Regions from separate parts of the Homo sapiens genome. Here region 2 is linked to region 1. Evidence: promoter capture Hi-C in 16 types of primary human blood cells and fetal thymus (Javierre and others, 2016). All regions are on one chromosome and are shown on one strand. The core of a region is centred on a gene start or on the middle of the fragment in contact, and the rest is flanking DNA. Distances in the headings are between cores, read along the strand shown.

Region 1 (4,208 bases), core at 557-3,056:
GGGACCAAGCGCTTGGAACTAGCTGGGTTTGGGCAGAAACAAGAAGGCAAATGACGGGACCGCCGCCGGAGTCCGGACTTCCATCCCTGGAGTTCACTGTCTCTCCCAGGGAACAGAGGAGTGTCCTGGTTTCTCAGCAATGAACCAGGAGAGTGTGAGAAAGAGCATTTGTTTCTTCTCCCGTGGCCCGACAAGCCACTCTTCGGCAGTTCTGCGAGCAGATTAATTGAAACGGGCCTGGAACTTCATCCTCTCCTCCCGATGGAGTTGCTGGAGGTCTGCGGACACTGCCTGGTTAGCCTCCGGGACCACAGCGCCGTGGGCTTTCCCTCGTGGTGTCTGCCTTAAACTTGGGTGCTATCAATCTATCCAACAATGACGGATGACCTTGTCATAACGACGCCAGTCAAAACATTTTCGGTCTAACTCTCTTCCAACCAACATCGAAGCATCCTGAATGAGACCCGGATGAAGTCTGAACAGCACGTTTCCCAGGTTCAGAAAACTTGAGTGGTGGGAAGAGAAAAAGAAACAAGCAGAAATCAGGAAAGAATGGCTATTAATTGCTCAGATTGGCAAGTGCTAAATAAGTTAGGTTGTTTGGAAAAAGATAAATGCCGTTTCTTCTCTTTACGGTATGGCCAGAACCCCGGCGATGGGAAAGTACCTCCTGAGTCGGTCAATTTCACACACCCTGCCTGTGCCCTCTACCATCTACTACCGAAAATGCCAGGAAGAGCTGGGGGGCAAGTGCCTCCTTCGTGGGTGCGAGACTGCATCGAAGGGCTGCCCTGGCACAAAGTCTGGGGAGAGGACATGGTGGAGGTGGGGCTGCACTCCCACCCTGCCCCTCTAACACCAGGTTTTGGGTAGAGAAACCTATGCGTGACCTCCTGCGGCAGCCGCAGGCAGCTGACCGCAAACAGCCTCGCCCGTGTCCCGGAGCAGTTGTGCCACCAGACGTAACACTGGATACTTGTCTCCGGGCCCCAAGAAGGAGAGGGAAAGAGCCCTCCAGAAGACAACCCGAGAAGGGGTCAGCAGAGCGCTGGGTGGAGTGCAGACTCCATTGCAGCCGCCTCCCAGCCCCACGGCCAAGCTTGAGTCCCTCCAGGACCAGCTGCTCTCGGTCTCAGGACCCTCGGTCCTACGCCTCCCTGCACCGACAAGCCTCCCTCCTGGGCTGCAGACAGAGGGTTTCACTGCAGCGCGCAACCCGTCCCGCTCCGCCCCCAACTTTTCTCCCCGGAGGATTTATGTTAGAGGTTGCGTGGCGGGCGAGTGGACTCTGGCACCCAGAAGCACTTCAGGAAAAACTGAGCCGGGCAAAAGCGCAAACCCGGTCCTGGCGGCGCGGGCTTGCTCCAGCGCGGACACCACAGCGTGTGCGGAGATGCATTCCCGTTGCCGCATTTCCACTGCTTTCAAGATCAGGGCACTGAGCTGGGACCCAGAAAAGACATATCATGGGCAGAAAGAGACAACAGGCTAGCGGCAGACGTCACGCCAAAAAAACAGGGGATGGGAGGGCGGAGGAGTTTGTGCGGGAAAGGCGCTCTGGCGATGTGGGTCGGGCCGAATTAGAACTTCCTTCTTCCCTCTCCCCTCCCCTTCTTCTGGCCTGCCTCCCCTCCCCCCTCCGTTCTCTCTCTCTCTCTCTCTCTCTCTCTCTCTCTCTCTCTCTCTCTCTCTCACACACACACACACACACACACACACACACACACACACACACACACACACACACACACACACACTCACTCTATTTTGTGCTGTCGTAAAACCCACGTGTCCAGCCGGGAAGCTGCCAGAGCGTGGAACCAAGGAGCCAGGACGCGGCAGCGGCCAAGCGCAGCAGCCCACGGCGGTTGAGTCGGGCGCCCAGGTCCGTCCGCACTCTCGCGCCCTCCGCGGGCCTCCCAATTTTCTCGCTTGCAGGTCGGGAGGTTTCCGGGCGGCACAATCTCTAGGACTCTCCTCCCGCGCTGCTCAGGGGCATGTAGCGCACGCAGGGCGCACACTCTCGCGCACCCGCACGCTCACCGAGACACCCGCACGCACCCACCGGCAGCACCGAGTTTTCAGGTAAGGTGAGGCTGGTCTGGGACTTAAGAGTCTAGGGCTTGGTAGATAGGAAGGTTGGTGGTCCTAGGTTGGGGGCGGGCGGCGAGACTGTTCTGCCTCCTGGCGCCTGAGGCCAACGCGGCTCGGGCGCTGCGCCACGCCGGCTCGGGTCGGCTCCGGGCGCTGGCTGAGGGCGGGGGCTGCGTCCTGCAGCCGAGTTCTACGGGGCAGCGCCCTCCTGTCGGGCCCCAGCATTGCTGGATGGGAGCTGGACGCTGCGATCGGGGAGGCAGAGCAGGGTGCACACAGCTCCCTCTGTGCGGCGCCGCAGCTTCGGAGTAAACTTTGCGCCCAAGCGGAGTTGGGAAGAGGGAGCCGCGGAACCGGGCGGCCGCCGGCTGAACCACCGGCTCGGGCACTTTCTCCAGGGTCCCAGTGGCCCTCTTCCCGGCCCCTTTCGCCCAGCTCACGCGCCCCCTCTTCCCTGCCCTCTGCCCCCAGTTCGAGGCGCCGGACATGCTGAAGCCCGGAGACCCCGGCGGTTCGGCCTTCCTCAAAGTGGACCCAGCCTACCTGCAGCACTGGCAGCAACTCTTCCCTCACGGAGGCGCAGGCCCGCTCAAGGGCAGCGGCGCCGCGGGTCTCCTGAGCGCGCCGCAGCCTCTTCAGCCGCCGCCGCCGCCCCCGCCCCCGGAGCGCGCTGAGCCTCCGCCGGACAGCCTGCGCCCGCGGCCCGCCTCTCTCTCCTCCGCCTCGTCCACGCCGGCTTCCTCTTCCACCTCCGCCTCCTCCGCCTCCTCCTGCGCTGCTGCGGCCGCTGCCGCCGCGCTGGCTGGTCTCTCGGCCCTGCCGGTGTCGCAGCTGCCGGTGTTCGCGCCTCTAGCCGCCGCTGCCGTCGCCGCCGAGCCGCTGCCCCCCAAGGAACTGTGCCTCGGCGCCACCTCCGGCCCCGGGCCCGTCAAGTGCGGTGGTGGTGGCGGCGGCGGCGGGGAGGGTCGCGGCGCCCCGCGCTTCCGCTGCAGCGCAGAGGAGCTGGACTATTACCTGTATGGCCAGCAGCGCATGGAGATCATCCCGCTCAACCAGCACACCAGCGACCCCAACAACCGTACGTAGCCGCAGCCCGCGCGCTCTCTCCCGGGGCGCCGGCGCCGGCGCCGGCGGGCGCGGGTGCCTGTCAGGGAGGCGGGTCGGATAGGAGTGACACGGGGCCGGGTGGGTGGGGAGCACCTGGTCCTGGCCGCTGGCCCGCGCCTCCCCGATCTCTGTGACAAAAGTTTTCTGGCGTTGGAGAAGGAAAGAGAACGGATGGGACGGCCGGTGGCACTTTGGGGTTCCCTCTCCCTCCCTCTCCTCACCTGCTTCACAGTCCCAAGTGTTTGGGGCCGGAGTCTACCGTGGACCCGGCCTAACAGACCTCTGCCCTCCCGCCGGACAGTGCCCGGGGCCAGGCGGGTACTGGCAGCGTGTGACAGGGGGTGTCTGGGTCAGGCCCTGCCTGGCCTTAGCCGGGACGAGGGAGGGACCCTCAGCGTCTCTGGGGAGCACGCAGACCAGGGCTTGTTTTTGCTACTCTCCACCCCACCTCTGGAGGGGTCATTTTCGGGCCGCGGGGTTGTGGGGGAACCGGCGGGAGCTGTTCGCTGGCCAGGCCTCACTGGAGTAGGAATTTTAGATGAAACTGAGTCCGTTTCTCCTTGAAGGCAGGCAGTATTCTTAGATCTACTATTCATTTAAAAAGAAGGAAAAGAAAAAAAAATGACTGCTACTTACTGAGAAGAAAATTTCTGTTCTCCTCCGATTCCGCTGATCCCGCTTTATCCGCGCACCTTTGACCCCGCAAACATTCATAACCCATGTTGGTTTATGTATTTATTTTTAGAAATTAGGGTGACTGTAATTTAGTAAAAGACGCTTACTCCCCTCTTCCTCCAAGTTAATAGCAAATGCCTAACTAAACATCAGAATTCCTGTAGCTTCGGTTTCTATATTCACAATTTGAAACGCTTATCACAAGTACAGTTCCATTTGGCGGTTTTGAAGCAAAACTCTAAATGAAGATCAAGCAATATGTACTGCTTTATACCTGCTTCTTTTTGATAATTTCAGAAGTTATACTGTGTTTACACCTATACTGTGTTGGG
Region 2 (4,208 bases), core at 1,193-3,692, 520 kb after region 1:
CAGATTGGAGAGAGGAGAGACTTAGACTGGGAAGTCCTTTAAAAGGTGCTTAGCAGTGGTGGAGGCAAGTTGAAAAGTTCAGAACTCAGCCAACATGAGAAAATGGGAAAATTTTGAAAGTCATTTCAGACTTAAGGGACTAGTTGCAAGTGGATAGGGAGGAAGAAATTGGAGATGAAGATGGGCCTGCAGGCTTTTGGTTGGAGTAATTTTGTAGATGATCTTGTTCTCTGATCTAAACTCTTCTTGCTTAGCTAAATGGTTCCTCGTTTTTTCTTTAAATCAAGAGATCCAGAGATATGAAATTACACTTCAGGTTTAAACCTTAAGGGGAAATATTCTTTGTCAAAGAATTAAAGATTAGATGCCATAAAATATACTTTCTGTACACTCATCAACCCAGGTCAGGAGAAACTAGGTTCTGGAGTCCTACGTGGTTAGTTCTAGGAGGTACCAACAGTCTCTCAACCAAAGGATGAGCAATGAGTCATCTTAGAAGGGATAAATAAGAACATCATATCCAGATAGGGAAACATGCTTCAGTTTCTGGGTGGATTTGAGAGAAGGAAGTATATACAAATATATGAAGAAAAAGGCAATGAACAAAGGAGAAATGGTGGTGCGGTGTCAATAGCACAAGCCTGTATGTGTTTTAGGACTTTGATCCATTTTGATTGCCTGTTTGTTGCCTAATTGTATTTAAAGAAACTAAGGTTGTTTCTAAAGTTCATCATAAGTAGGACTTAACATATATTCCCAAAGAATTTTAGAGTAGAGATGTAGCTTCACATTTTGAGAGGCTGAGGTGGAAGGATTGCTTGAGCTCAGGAGTTTGAGACCAGCCTGGGCAACATAGTGAGATGTTGTCTCCACTAAAAATAATGAAAAAAAAATTTACCAGCTCGGCGCCTGTAGTCCCAGCTACTCAGGAGGCTGAAGTGGGAGGACCACTATTAAATAAGTACTAACTTTGTGCCAGTTTGTTGGGCTATAACTGTGAGCAGTCCTTTATGAAGCTTAAATTCTAGTGCAAAGGCAGATAATAAATAAATAAAATAATTTCAAAGTAGGAGTAAGTTATTACAGAAAAATAAAACAATAGTGTGCTCAAGTGGCTACATGGGAGCAGCACTGTTTCAGATTAAGTGCTGGGGAAGAGGAAGCAATTGAGATGAGACCTGATTTCTTAATCTCTAAGACTATAAATTAGCTGTTTCGGTAATTACTTTTATCTTAAGAAATAAGCCATAAGGTTAAAACATCAATTTACTTCCTAACTTCTGTAAGTATATCGTATTTTGAGAACCTCTCTCTTGTCTATTTGGATGCATTTGTATCACATAAGGCAATGCTGTCCTCTGGTGGTAGTAACTTTAATAGCATGCCAGCTTTACTTTTGCAAATCTTTATAAGGACGTTCTTTATTTAGTGGGAATTATTTAAAATAGATGTCCTTTTTAGATTGTGTTTGAATTTAAGGGCCATTAGAATTTATTTGAAAATCTTATTTAGTCTCAAATAAATGCTTGGCGTAGTTCAGTAAAACACTGTTGAAGGAAAGATTACTTAAGTGTAAAGAACTCAACTCTCAGAACTCAACTCTCAGAACTCTCAGTACTGGAAATACAAACTAAGCAAAGTAAATTGCTGATACAAGTGTAGAAAATTTGGGACTTTGTCTTGTTCATCAAAATGTGTATTACATTAAATTGCCCATTTCAAAGGGCTAATACAACTTTAGAAAATTTTGAAAGAATCTACTTTGGAATTTGAAAGGATAGTGTTTAAGAATAGTGAACATTATTAAAGGAATTTTATATCAAACAATAAATTTCCATTGAAATATGGCCATATTCTTAAATTTAATATTCTAAGTATTTGGTCTGTCACTTCTAAATACCTATTTTTATGTCTTGCTTTCTGCTATTTGGATATTTTTCTGCTCTTTTCTAAGTCTTAAATTTAAAGGTTCATTTGGAGTAAAGGATTTTATCTTTTAGAAAGTAATTGAGATTTGAGAAATATTAGGTAGCTGACAGTTAAAAATAAATTTGACTTATTTTTTTAAATCCAGATCAAATCTCTTACATGTGTAGTCTTGTTGTACTGTGGCAGCTCTTCTCTAGGCTCTTGACTGGGTAATCCATTTCAGTTCTTTCTGCTAGTCACCTCCATGAGAGTAAAGTTGATAAACATTCATCATTACATATATTTCTAGTTGAATCTTTATCAGCTGGTCCACAATTTTAAATTATTTACATTCCACGGTCTAGTCGGTGTTTACTGTTTGGTTTACTTAAAAAAATGCAGTTGTGTAATTTGGTTTGCAGTACCCTCATAGTAGTTTCATAATTATGGCAGAAATCACAATAAATAATTTAAAATTATTTTTGACTAAAGATAATGTGGGTAGAGAGATTATGTAATTTAACTGGACAGTGTAGATTTCTGTTTACATTTATTTCACAGAAGTATATAAAACATACCTAGTAGTTATTTTATATTCTGTAATCTTTTGCCGGGTGGGACACTTGAAGCTATTTTTTTTTTTTTTTTGGAACAGAGTCTCACTCTGTCGCCCAGGCTGGAGTGCAATGGCGCGACCTTGGCTCACTGCAACCTCCGCCTCCTGGGTTCAAGTGATTCTCCTGCCTCAGCCTCCTGAGTAGCTGGGATTACAGGTGCCTGTCACCACGCCTGGCTAATTTTTGTATTTTTAGTAGAGACAGGGTTTTACCATGTTGGTCAGGCTGGTCTTGAACTCCTGACCTTGTGATCTGCCCACCTTGGCCTCCCAAAGTGCTGGGATTACACGCATGAGCCACCCCTCCTGGCCAAAACTATTCTTCTATGAATATAGATTAGTAAGAATTATAGAAACATCTTTATAAGGGCATATTATACACAGTCTGAATTGGCAGCTCTCGATGATGAAATCACCATGTATATAAATATACTTTGCTTTTATTACAAAATATGATTTATAAACATGCCCACATACCCACAGAGGACTTCAGTGGAAACCAGGGATACTCAACCATGCTTGCCTGCGCCAAAAGTAAATTCAACCTTAGGAAGGGGTTGACTGTTTAAAGGTTAAAAGAAAAGGTGCCTAACTATATGTAGTGTCTGTCATGTTGTATATTTTAATAGACTCTTTTATGTCTGGAAGGGGAAAATGCCATACCTTCATGCCTTTATTTGAAGGATTGTGAGGCATTTAAGATAGATGTGTATTTAATTTTTTTCTTTTTTTTTTTTGGTGGGAGCAGATCAGTGATTTTTTCAGTTCATACCAGACCACAGCATTTTCCCACAGCAGCCTTGATGTGTTCATCTCCTCTTTTAGAGACAGGGTCTTGCCCTGTCACACAGACTGGGGTTCAGTGGCACAATCATAGATCAAACATTCCTCCTGCCTCAGCCTCTCAAGGAGATGGGGTAACAGGCGGGTGCCACCATGTCCAGTGCATGTGTGTGTGTGTGTGTGTGTGCGTATGTATGTATAATATAATATATGTGTGTACATTTATATATGTATGTGTGTATATATATATTTAGAGATATTTGTGTATGTGTATATGTAGTTAGAGAGAGAGAGATATTTAGAGATGGGGTCTTGCTGTATTGTCCAGGCTGGTCTTGAATTCTTAAACTCCTGAGCTCAAGCAATCCTCCTGCCTCGGCCTCTCAAAGTGCTGGGATTACAGGCATGAGCCACTGTGCCCAGCCAAGATTTTTTTTCACCTAGAAATAAAAGTCAGTATTATATTTTTTTGCATATACAGTTTTGACTTGTAAAATGGAATCACCTCAATTGTGCTACTTTAAATATTAAGCATAGTTTTTACCTTAACTAAACTTTCAATAAGCTTGACCTTCTTTAACCCTTAAAGAATTCAAAATTGCCAGTCTTGGTATTCTATATAATGTATTTTCTGTCTTTCACTTTTTTAATATGATGGAAAATGTTGACTAGTGTATATTGGAGTGTCTTTTTATTTTTGGAGTCTAAACTGATTATTGGTGAGAATAAACTCCCCAATGTTAGGATCATTATTGCCTTCCTAATGGCTTCAACAGTCACATATAAATATCAGGGAGAAAGGGTGAGAATGCATAGAATGAAATTCTTAATTACTCTTAGTGAAAAACCTTTTGAATTTAATGGCTCCTTTTTATGTTGCATAGAATGTCTTGCTATTCTT

Evidence for each region. Contacts are between HindIII fragments. The CHiCAGO score rates a contact against its expected background, and 5 or more counts as called.
Region 2: a contact is called between a fragment that was not itself captured here and the fragment with the promoter of PRDM6 in region 1, in 2 of 17 cell types (megakaryocytes and erythroblasts). The highest score is 6.9, in megakaryocytes.

What each region holds. Positions count from the first base shown.
Region 1 is chr5:123,087,435-123,091,642 of GRCh38, forward strand. PRDM6 (PR/SET domain 6) reads left to right here and starts at 1,807. Exons shown (of 8, transcript NM_001136239.4): 1 at 1,807-2,085; 2 at 2,566-3,172. The coding sequence starts at 2,581. It overlaps PRDM6-AS1 (PRDM6 antisense RNA 1), which reads right to left and starts at 2,882. Exons shown (of 2, transcript NR_146771.1): 1 at 2,638-2,882; 2 at 1-505. RefSeq lists enhancers at 457-1,001, 1,002-1,546. The HindIII fragment of the contact is 4,313 bases long and covers 1,098-4,208 here.
Region 2 is chr5:123,609,940-123,614,147 of GRCh38, forward strand. All of the region lies in intron 13 of CSNK1G3 (casein kinase 1 gamma 3), which reads left to right. Among named protein-coding and RNA genes, the nearest start is that of CSNK1G3, 100 kb to the left of the region's middle. The HindIII fragment of the contact is 2,856 bases long and covers 1,015-3,870 here.